Linked DNA regions of Homo sapiens: region 2 is linked to region 1. The links are contacts of gene promoters, found by promoter capture Hi-C in human tissues and cell types (Jung and others, 2019). All regions are on one chromosome and are shown on one strand. The core of a region is centred on a gene start or on the middle of the fragment in contact, and the rest is flanking DNA. Distances in the headings are between cores, read along the strand shown. Region 1 holds the start of PABPC3 (poly(A) binding protein cytoplasmic 3). Region 2 overlaps MTMR6 (myotubularin related protein 6).

Region 1 (5,670 bases), core at 2,681-5,180:
AAAAAAAAAAAAAAAAAAACAGAAAGATTGCTAAACCGAGAATAACCCATTTTTAAAAATAAGGCCGGGCGTGGTGGCTCACACCTGTAATCCCAGCACTTTGGAAGGCAAAGGTGGGTGGATCCCTTGAGCTCAGGAGTTTGAAACCAGCCTGGGCAACATGGCAAACACTGTCTCTACAAAAAATACAAAAAATTAGCCTGGTGTGTTGACGCACGCCTGTAGTCCCAGCTACTTGTGAAGCTGAGGTGGGAGAATTGCTTGAGCCCAGGAGGCAGAGATTGCAGTGAGCCAACATCGCACCTCTGCACTCCAGTGTGGGTGACAGTGAGACCTGTCTCTAAATAAAGTAAATAAAACAAAAAAGAAGAAGACACTATTTAAACTATTGGGGTACTTATGACAAGACCTTCAGCAAACTTGTATTTAACAACCTGGAAACTGGCAACATCTGAGGACTGAAGCCCTGCTGTATGGACCACGTATACATCAGACATTGTCAGTGAGTAAATAATATACCTCAAAACATCTTTATATTTTTTTCAAATATGAACATTCTAATTTTATGAGTTATGAAAATCATTTAACTTTAACCATAAGGGATTTCTCCATAATTTACCTACAGGCCCCCAAAATGGGGATGAATAAACAGCATGTATTTTTTATATATATATAATATATGTATATATATATACATATGTGTGTGTGTGTATAACATACATGTGTGTATATTATATATATGCACACACATTATTTATATGTTTGTGTGTATGTGTGTGTATAGCTATACCCACATTACATAGTGACCATCTCTCTATAATACATAGTTTATTGCAAAGTAATATGGTATAATTATATTTCTATGTAGTGCAATGTCACAGCCTCTACTCATCTTAAAGGAGAATGCTCAAATGGGCTGTCCTTTTATACAATTCACTAGGTGTAACATTAATTATAAATATTTATATTAATTAATATTACCAATAAAGGAGCTACAAGTAGTGATAAATTATATTGGGAGGAGGAGGAGGGATGGTGGGAAGAGGTAGATGAAACATATCCTTATTTGTTACAGCAGGAAGTCAATAGTTAAATTACAAAATTGATAAACCAAGAAATAACTATGTACAATTATTATTGAAGAAAATCAACTACCAGAAACACTAAAACCAAATGATTAAAAGTGATTATCTCTGTGATCAGAACCATGTTTAGCCTCCTGTTCAATTAGATTTTTAAAACTATGTATTTATTTTTTATTTAAAAATAATGCAGTATAAATTAATAATTGTCTTACAATTTTGAACAAATGTTACTGAATTTATAATTACTATTTTGTCATTGCATATTTTCATTTATGAATATTAAAAATAAACACTATTATGTAAAGACCTAAAATTTTGGTGAAAAAGTGATTTTCATATTTGAAATATAGTGGGAGATAGAATAATAGAAAATGTAAAGAAAGACTATTAGTAAAATTGATGATTTTTCTTTTTTTCACTGTTTAAGAAATTTTTATTAAAGCAAGAATTTTATAATCCAAACCATGTTTCCTTGCTCAGTTATCAATTCTGTTACTTAAAACAGAATGGACATTTTGAGCTATTCCACAGTAAAGAATTAAAAAATTAAAGGAATGCTTTAAATTTTTGTACTTTGCTGAAAATTCTTTTCCCAGGGTCTACAAAACATTAACTGGTTTTTGTATTTTACGATTTTTTGTTTTTAAATCAAAATTAAGTAATCTTTTTTTTGTTTTTAAATCAATAAGTAATCTAGGACTAGCATTATATTTGCTAGACCTTGCATTTGCTCGGTACATAAGGTTCAAAGTTTCCTTTCCATTTTTTATTTTAGATTTTGCATTTTTTATTTTAGATTTTGCAATTTTTTTTCCCATAGTTTCTCGATGTTTAGATATTTTTCTTCGGTGAAGCACAAATTTCTTTTCGTGGTCTCTGATCAATTTTAAACAGTTGGAACACCGGTAGCACTGTTAACTGCTTTCTGGGTAGCCTCTTTAGCTTGGTGGGCTTGTAGTACAGCTACAGCTTCATCAACCTTAGAACGGAGTGACTCTGGAGACTCGAGCATATAAAGAAGTTCTGAATTATCAATCTCCAACAACATGCCAGTGATTTTCCCAGCAAGAGTAGGGTGCATGGCTTGAATAAGAGGAAAGAGCCGTTCACCTAACATTTGCTTTTGCTTTTGAGGAGGGGCAGATGCCAACCTGGAGGCAGTCAAAGTTTCCTGACCTTGTACATGAACAGCAAGCTGTTGCATTGTAACTTGTGGCTGTGCATTACGATGTTGCTGAGGATTGCGAACTCCCGCAGCATATTTATACCGTGGAACCGTGCGCACAGCAGGGGTAGCTGCAGCAGCAGCAGCAGCTGCAGGACGTGGACCCACTGTCTGTGTTGATGTGTTAGCAACACGCTGCGTTGACATGACTCGTGGAACCTGTGAAGAAGCTGGTCTCATAGTACTAAATGGTACTCTAGGAGCACCTGGGCGGATAGCACTGGGCTTATTTTGGAATGGATGAGGTCTGGCACCCTGAGCAGTCCAGCGAGGACTTGGTCTTAGTCGAGCAATTTGGCTAGGAGGATAGTATGCAGCATGGTTCTGAGTCTGTGGGACAGCTGTCATGAAGTAACCTGAAGGAGGTGCTCGCTGGTTGGGCACAGCTCGTACACTTGCCATTCTCTGCATATACTCGTTAGTGAGGTAAGCCTGGCGCTCTTCTTTGCGCTGAGCTAAAGCTACATACAATGGCTTTGTGGCCACAATTCTACCGTTCATTTCTGTAACTGCTTTAGTGGCTTCTTCTGGGGAGGAGAAACATACAAAACCAAACCCTTTGCTGCGACCACCTTCCATCATAACCTTTGCACTAGTGATTGTACCAAATGGAGAAAACGCTTTCCGGAGACGTTCATCATCAATACCATCATCAAGATTTTTCACATAAAGATTAACAACCTGGTATCTGGTGATCCTATCTTGCTTCATCTGTTCAAATGTGCGCTTAAGTTCCGTCTGCCGTTCCACTTTTTTCTGAGCTCGACCAACGTAAATTTGTTTTCCATTGAGCTCCTTTCCATTCATCTCATCTACAGCTTTCTGTGCATCTTCATGCCTTTCAAAGCTTACAAATCCAAATCCTTTGGATTTTCCACTTTCATCGGTCATTACTTTCACACTTAAGGCGGGCCCGAACTTGCCAAAGAGATCCTTAAGGCGCTCATCATCCATGTCTTCTCCAAAATTCTTGATGTAAACATTGGGGAACTCTTTTGCCCTAGCTCCAAGTTCAGCTTCTCGTTCTTTACGAGACTTAAATTGTCCAACAAATACTTTGCGACCATTTAGGAGCATTCCGTTCATTTTTTTAATAGCTCTTTCAGCTGCTTCGTGTGTCTCAAAGTGTACAAATCCATAACCCTTGGAACCATTTTCATCACAAACCACGTTACACGAAAGGATGTTACCAAAAGCAGAAACTGTATCATACAGTGCTTTATTATTAATGGACTTATCCAGATTTTTAACGAATATGTTGCCCACTCCACTTTTTCGAAGTGATGGATCACGCTGAGACCACATGATGCGTACTGGCTTGCCCTTTATAACATCAAAATTCATGGTGTCCAGAGCATGCTCCGCGTCCTTCGTATGCTGGAAGTTCACATACGCGTAGTTGGAGGAGCCGCTGGTGATCAAGTCCCTGCAGATCCGGATGGAGAGGATGGGCCCTGCCGGGCTGAACTTCTCGTAGAGCATCGCCTCAGTCACGTCGGGGTGGAGGTCCCCCACGTAGAGCGAGGCCGTTGGGTAGCTGGGGGTGCTGGGGTTCATTCTCGGCACGGCTGCCCGCAGGCACACAAGCCGCGACCTTTCCGTTACAGGAGTAGAGCGCGTGCCGGGGCCGGGGGCGTAGCCGGAGGGAGGGGAGCGGGGGCAAGCGCAGAGGGACAAAAATCAGCCGAAATCGAAAACTACTCAACGGCCGCAGAACGGGGTCGATCCGCTGCCGCTGGCTGCCGGCTGCCGGCGGGGAGCCAGGGTAGCGGTGTCGGGTCCGGGCAGCAGGAAGGCCTTGGTCTCTTAGTTCCTTCTTGGAGCTGCTGCGGGGCCGCTGGCGGGCGGCTCGGGCTCAGCTGCTTCACCGGGTTATTTTGTAAAAGAGCATTAATGATTTTTCTAAAATGATTTTTATAATCCAAATTTAAAATGCCTGGGAAAAAAATAAATGAAAGAATTTTTTTCTCCTTTCTCCTTTAGTATGTTTTTATATATGTTCTACTTTACACAAATATATTTTTATAAAATATTTTCTACTTTTTACCTCGTCTCTACTAAAATTACAAAAAATTAGCTGGGCTTGATGTGCTCACCTGTAATCCCAGCTACTCGGGAGGCCTAGGCACGAGAATCGCTTGAACCCGGGAGGTGGAGGTTGCAGTGAGCAGAGATCGCGCCACTGCCCTCTAGTCTGGGTGACAGAGCGAGACTATCTCAAACAAACAAACAAACAAACAAAAAACCCCGAAAAACCGACTTTTTATATTATATAACAATATAAAACATAATAAATATGTAATTTTATTTTTCATTTATTTATTTTTATTTTACTTATTTATTTTTGAGACGGAGTTTTGCTCTGTCACCCAGGCTGGAGTGCAGTGGTGCGATCTCGGCTCACTGCAACCTCCACCTCCCAGGTTCAAGCGATTCTCCTGCCTCAGCTTCTAAAGTAGCTGGGATTACAGGCACCCACCACCAAGCCTGGCTAATTTTTTGTATTTTTAGTAGAGACGGGGTTTCACCATCTTGGCCAGGCTGATCTTGAACTCCTGACCTCGTGATCCACCCACCTCGGCCTCCCAAAGTGCTGGGATTACAGGCGTAAGCCACCGTGCCCGACCAATAAATATGTAATGTTAATATAGTATTATATGATATAGTCTTTTGAGGTCAGGTTGGGATTCATTATTAAGTATACGTTTTATGATTATAAGTACACAATCTTGTGACCTAATATAGCTACACATCTAAGTAAGTGATGATCTGAAATAATTCTATTTAAGAAAATCCTTTAAGAAAGGTCCAGTCCCACAAAAAATATCAGTTTGGGGGAGGATCTGTTCATTCTGTTCATGTTACAAATAATTTATTTTAGGGTTTTTTGTTTGTTTGTTTGTTTAGATAGAGTCTCGTTCTGTCACCCAGGCTGTAGTGCAGTGGTGCGATCTTGGTTCACCGCAACCTCCACCTCCCGGGTTCAAGGGATTCTAGCGCCTCAGCCTCCCGAATAGCTGGGATTACAGGCAGGCACTACCACGCCTGGCTAATTTTTGTATTGTTTTTAGTAGAAACGGGGTTTCGCCTTGTTGGCTAGGCTGGTCTAGAATTCCTGACCTCAGGTGATCCGCCCACCTACGCCTGCCAAAGCTCTGGGATTACAGGCGTGAGCCGCCGCGCCTAGCCTAGAGTAGAGGGTTTCTTTAAATAGTGGTTGCCACTAATATAAAATTCAATTAAAAGTTTAAAAATGAAGTTGATACACAGCTTTTTAGGAGCACGTCCATCATTTCAACAATGTGGTCTTGTAAAAACCAAGTGCTAGGAAGGGTGTGGTTACTCAACAATATGAGATCG
Region 2 (5,621 bases), core at 1,433-3,932, 180 kb before region 1:
TCTTACGGCTACACATCTATTATTTATCGACTCTCATCAAAAAGAAACCTGGGTAAGGAGGACCGCAGCTGTACTATTTATCATAATAATAATGGACTTGGTCTGTCATGTTTTATTTTGAATGTGTATAACACAATTTTTAATCATTGGTTACCTATCTCAACCAAAATATTTTTTGGTCTCCAGATCACTCCTGCCCTCCCTTCTAATAAATCAGTTATAGAATATGTAACATGGAATTCTATAAAATACCACACTCTTATCTCCATAAATAATTATGAAATACCTGTTGTTCCTAGGCCGGATGCGGTGGCTCACGCCTGTAATCCCAGCACTTTGGGAGGCCGAGGTGGGTGGATCACGAGGTCAGGAGTTCAAGACCAGCCTGGCCAACATAGTGAAACCCCATCTCTACTAAAAATACAAAAAATTAGCTGGGCATGGCGATGGGTGCCTGTAATCCCAGCTACTTGGGAGGGTGAGGCAGGAGAATTGCTTGAACTTGAGAGGCGGAGGTTGCAGTGAGCCGAGATCGCGCCATTGCACTCCAGCCTGGGTGACAGTGTGAGACTCTGTCTCAAAAAAAAAAAAAAAAAATCCTATTGTTCCTTTTAATTTTTAAAAATCTAAAAAATATGTACACATTAACAGATCAAACGGATTGTTTGGTATATTCCACAGTGTTTTTATACAAATTTTAATTAGGGTACTTATTTTTTTTGCTAGTATAAATGTTGCAATGTACATATACATGTAAACAACATTTTGTGTATTTATATGAGACATATGTATATGTTTCTTTCTGTATATTTGCCAGAGTTTCTCTGGGATATTTGTCTGGGAGTAAAATTATTGGGTCTTGAATAAGTGCATATATAACCTTACTAAGTATGTCACCTCTTCAAAATGGTTGTTCCAATTTATTCTCAGTAGTGTATTACACAATGTTGTACATCCTCAACAACATTGATATTGTCAATTTAAAATTTTTTGCCTATCTAGTAGATGTCCAATTGTAATGTTAATGAGCTGATTATAAAGAATTTACCCTTTTCAGATAAAGAAAAAGGAAAGAGTTTCCTTTTCTTTTTTTATTGGGTTGTTTGTCTTTTATTGATTTTATAAAAGTTCTGGGCTACAAATAGAATTACCATTCAACCCAGCAATCCTTTTACTGGATATATACTCAAAGGAAAATAAATCAACCAAAAAGACACGGGCATTTGCATGTTTGTTGCAGCGCTGTTCACAATAGCAAAGCTATGGAATCAACCTAGGTGCCCATTAGCAGTGGATTGGATAAAGAAAAAGTGGTGCATATTCACCACAGCCATAAAAAGAGAACAAAATCATGGCCTTTACAGCAACATGGATGCAGGTGGAAGCCATTATTCTAAATGAATTAACACAAACAAAAAACCGTATACTGCGTGTTCTCACTTATAAGTGGGAGCTTAACATTGGGTACATACGAGCACAAAGATGGGAACAATAGACATTAATAGACTAATAGAGGTGGGAGGGAGGGAAGTAGAGGAACAAGGGTTGAAAAACTACCTCTTGGGTACTGTGTTCACTGTCTGGGCTATGGGTTCAGTCAAAGCTCAAACCTCAGAATCATTCAGTATATTCATATTACAAACCTGCACATGTACCCACTGAATTAAAAAAAAAAGTATTATTCAAGAAAACAAATAAAGAGTTCTAGGTTATAATGCTTTGTCAGATGTGTGTGTCATAGATAGCTTTTCCCAGTGTGTGGCTTGTCTTCTCTGTTTTTTATTTTATATGTCTTTCAGTTGAAGTTTATATTTTTAATGTTATAGATTTTTCATTTTTTTCTTTTATTGTTTGTGCTCTGTTGTGACTTAAGAAATCCTTTCCTATGTCAAAGTCATAAAGGTTCTTCTATATTTTCTTCTAAAAGCTTAAGTTTGATCCTGTAAGTTGTTAATACATCTGGGAAATATTTTGGTGTATGATGTGACTAGGGATTCATTTTTATGTTTTCGTATAGACGACCGGCGCCATTTATTGACTGTTTCATTCCATTCGTCTTTAGTACCAGCTCTGTCATAAAAACATCTTCCATGTATGTGAGGCTCTGCTTTTGAGTTTTCTTTTCTATTCGTTTGGTATACTGACTACACTGTACCACACTGTTTTATTGACTATAGCTTTTAAATAAATTTTGATATCAAGTAGAGCATACCCTCCCAACTTGTTCTTCAAAATTGCCATGGCTATTTTGGATTCTTTGTTCTTCCTTTTCTGTTTTAGAATTCATTTAGCACACATTTATTGAGCATATACAGTGTGTTTCATATCACTATTCTAGATATTTTGGAAACAATAGCCAATAATAACAGGTACAAATTCTATCCTCATGGAGCCAACATTCTAGTGCTGAAAGATATTGATAACATCACCAATAAGTAGGTAGATAAGTAAAATACATAGTGATAAGTGCTAAGCAGAAAAAGAAGTAGGAAAGGTGGTTAGAATATGGGGCTTGTGTCTCTGTGCCTGAGAGGAAGAGACTTGGGCATGTTTCTGTGCCACTAGCTCTGCCAGCTTTTAGAACCTCCACTTTATAGATGAAGAAGCTGAAGCTCAGGCAAGTGGCAATTCATTCATTGTTACACAGGCAGTGTAGAGTAGTAAAATGAGCTCACGTAGACTGTGTTGTCAGGTAGCTTTGGGTTCAAATGTCAGCTCTGCTGTTCACTGCTTGGGTGACTATGTCAGGGTGCTTTTGGCTGTAAGTAAATGAATACCTGACTGAACATGGTGCCAAACCTTGCAAAGCAGGAGAGGTGGGTAGGCTTTCCTCAGTAGCCCCATTGCTTATCAGGGAGGAGAAGCTCTCTCAGAAGGCCCCCAGCTAACTTTCCCTAACATCTGATTGTTTGAAAATCCGGACACTTGGCTACTCCTACCTGAAAAGGAGGCAGAGAATGTAGATCCTAGTATTTTTTATCTCTTGAGGGAAAAGGATGTTGCAAGTAAGGAAGGGGGGGAGGAATGGCAGACCAACAGTGTCTGCCAAAAAGTATGTAACTTTCGAGCTTAGCACCCACATAAAATGGGTATATAGCATCAGTCATCATGTAGGGCTTTTGTGAGTCTTAGATGAAAGAAAATATGAAAAACATCTGTGCGTAAAACATAGTAGTGGCGTAAATCATAGCTGCTCATACTATTTTTCTAAGCAGTTGAATCAAGATTAGAGGTCAATTATGCCTCCCAGTCCAGAGATTGATGTTGCTCTGTGGTACACCCCTGTACTGCACATACTGTCATACTGTTCTCTTCTCTTTCTCTCTTTGATTGTACTCTTCTGATTTCCCCAAGAAGGCTAACCAATTGATATATGATTCTATATCAGCTGTTAAGGAAACTCACTTGAGATACTGATCTTGGAGAAGTTGTATTCCCTAGAGGCACTGGATCCCTTCTTCATCCAGTGTTTGTCCAAGAATTGCCAGGAATTTTACCTAGCAGTACCTTCTGAAATAATTAGTCATATTATCATCCACTCCATCTACCCCTCCTTTGTCCACTTGCTTCAGTATTTTCTCTATTATCCATCTCGTAGAGATATAAATGAAGGCTTCCCGTATAGCTATTCCCTCAGCTGCTGGGAATGTAGTTTGAGGGGCAACAAAAAGATATCTGTGTTATTCTCTACTCTCCTATTGTTGTCTTTTAAATGCTTTCTTATCAGTATATTCCCTTATGTTTGCCCTAAATGAAGTTTGTTTAATATACTAGAGCCATAGAAATGAACATTTTAGATCCAGAAGGGGCCGTATCAACCTTATATCCTTTTTCTCACTTTACAGTTGATTATGTTTTCAAAATCACATAACTAGTTAGTGGTAGGACCAGGTTTCTTCATCATTTTCTTCCTGCAAATACTTTTGGGTTTTTATAATTAAAATCAGAACAGTGATGTACAGGTTGAATATCCCCAATCCAAAAATTCAGCACTGACATGATGTTCAAAGGAAATGCTCATTGGAGCATTTCAGATTTCAGATTTTCAGATTAGGGATGTCAATTGATAAGTATAATGCAAATATACCAAAATCTTTAAAAATCCAAAATTTGAAATACTTCTAGTCCCAAACATTTTGGATAAAGGGTTCTCAACTTGTAATATTACAGTTAGCTTTTATTCCTTATTCTCTGTTTAAATGTTATTATTAGATCATTTTTAGTAACTTGTCACAGGCGCATTAATATAAGTGATAATGGTGCTAAATCTTAGCCGTAAGGACTATATATGTGTGTGTGTGTGTTAATTATTTGTTCTCTATGTAGTTTTAATTTCCATTGACAACTGCTTCTCTCATTGTTTTTCAAGCTTTTCTTGATTATTTAAATGCATTTAATTTTGCAGGTGAACTTTAGATTTAAGATGTATAATTAATATTAACATATAATGTAATAATTACATAATATATGTGTATTATATAAATAATCATCCCTCACTACAAAACAAAGCAGATTGGAATTTTTAAACTGAAATTTATGTTGAATTTTTAGATTAATTTGGGATAAATGGATCTCTTGCATGATTAGGAGCCTATGATCTTTTATTCTCCAGAAAAGTTTTCTATAAATATTTTAATAGGAGTGTTATTAAGAAAAAGTAGGCATTTTTAGTAGCAAACAAAATATTATTGGTAGTAGGTGAGAACAATAAGCATATGTTTAAAATACCATCAAGTATTGAGTTTATAGTAGGACTTTTTATTCATTCATTTAGTAAACTCTTATTGTGATAAAGGAGGTATCAGGGATGACATCCATATTTCTGGCTTGGGCATTCACATTTAAAAAATTAAAGTTGAAGTGTGTGATATATAACATTTGCAAGCTTTTTGATTTGAGGAGGGCAATTATAATGTTCCAGGTACTGTGTTAGGTGCTGGAGATGTAATGTTGATCAACTCTGCACCATGCCACCCCCAAGGTCCTCAGCCTCCCTCCTGTGCTCATGGGCACCCAAAATTTCAGCCTCAGAAGCAGTTTCCAGAGGGGCCAAGGCAGCTAGGGGCTGGTGTGTCAGTACCGCCCCAAGCACATGCACACCCAGCTAGATCACGACAGTATCTGGGCTTGGCTATTGGGACATGTCCACAACTTTGCTCTACCACAGAACAGGCAGTGGGAGTTGGGAGAGGCCAGGGAGTGGGAGCAGGCACTTCTGAACCTGCAGGGGGAGGGGGTTTCCTAGGCCCCCAAGAGCACAGGGATGCCTGGGTCCAGAGCCATGGCTGGGCGGCTGCAGCTGTGCCCGGGAGTGTGGCTCCTGCCCTGCCAACTCGGTAGGGTATGGGGCTTCCACTGGGATCACCTGTTCCCAGGTCTTGCCTGCTCTGCAGAGCGCGCAACCCTGGCTGCACCTCCCCCACTGCAGCTGGCATCCTCACAGTGGCCTTCACTGTGAAGGAAAAGTATAGCTTGATCTGCAGGAAGAAAAGGGAGGGGGCCTAACTTACTTGGAAAGGGTTGTGGGGCATGTCAGGCTACGCTTTTGGTGTTATTATGAGTTTTGAGCAAAGACCAGAAATGTGTCTAGAAGTTCTTAGATGAAGAGGTAGTGTTAACAG

Evidence for each region. Contacts are between HindIII fragments. The study calls those that stand out against the background at their distance.
Region 2: a contact is called between a fragment that was not itself captured here and the fragment with the promoter of PABPC3 in region 1, in 1 of the 25 tissues and cell types used here (dorsolateral prefrontal cortex).

Annotation. Positions count from the first base shown.
Region 1 is chr13:25,094,396-25,100,065 of GRCh38, reverse strand. PABPC3 (poly(A) binding protein cytoplasmic 3) reads right to left here and starts at 3,930. Exons shown (of 1, transcript NM_030979.3): 1 at 812-3,930. The coding sequence starts at 3,867. The coding sequence ends at 1,972. LOC124900613 (a long non-coding RNA gene) reads right to left here and starts at 4,446. Exons shown (of 3, transcript XR_941762.3): 1 at 4,407-4,446. RefSeq lists a silencer at 3,721-4,015. The HindIII fragment of the contact is 11,758 bases long and covers 1,414-5,670 here.
Region 2 is chr13:25,268,502-25,274,122 of GRCh38, reverse strand. It overlaps MTMR6 (myotubularin related protein 6), which reads left to right. Exons shown (of 14, transcript NM_004685.5): 2 at 1-52. Among named protein-coding and RNA genes, the nearest start is that of MTMR6, 16 kb to the left of the region's middle. The HindIII fragment of the contact is 5,889 bases long and covers 1-5,621 here.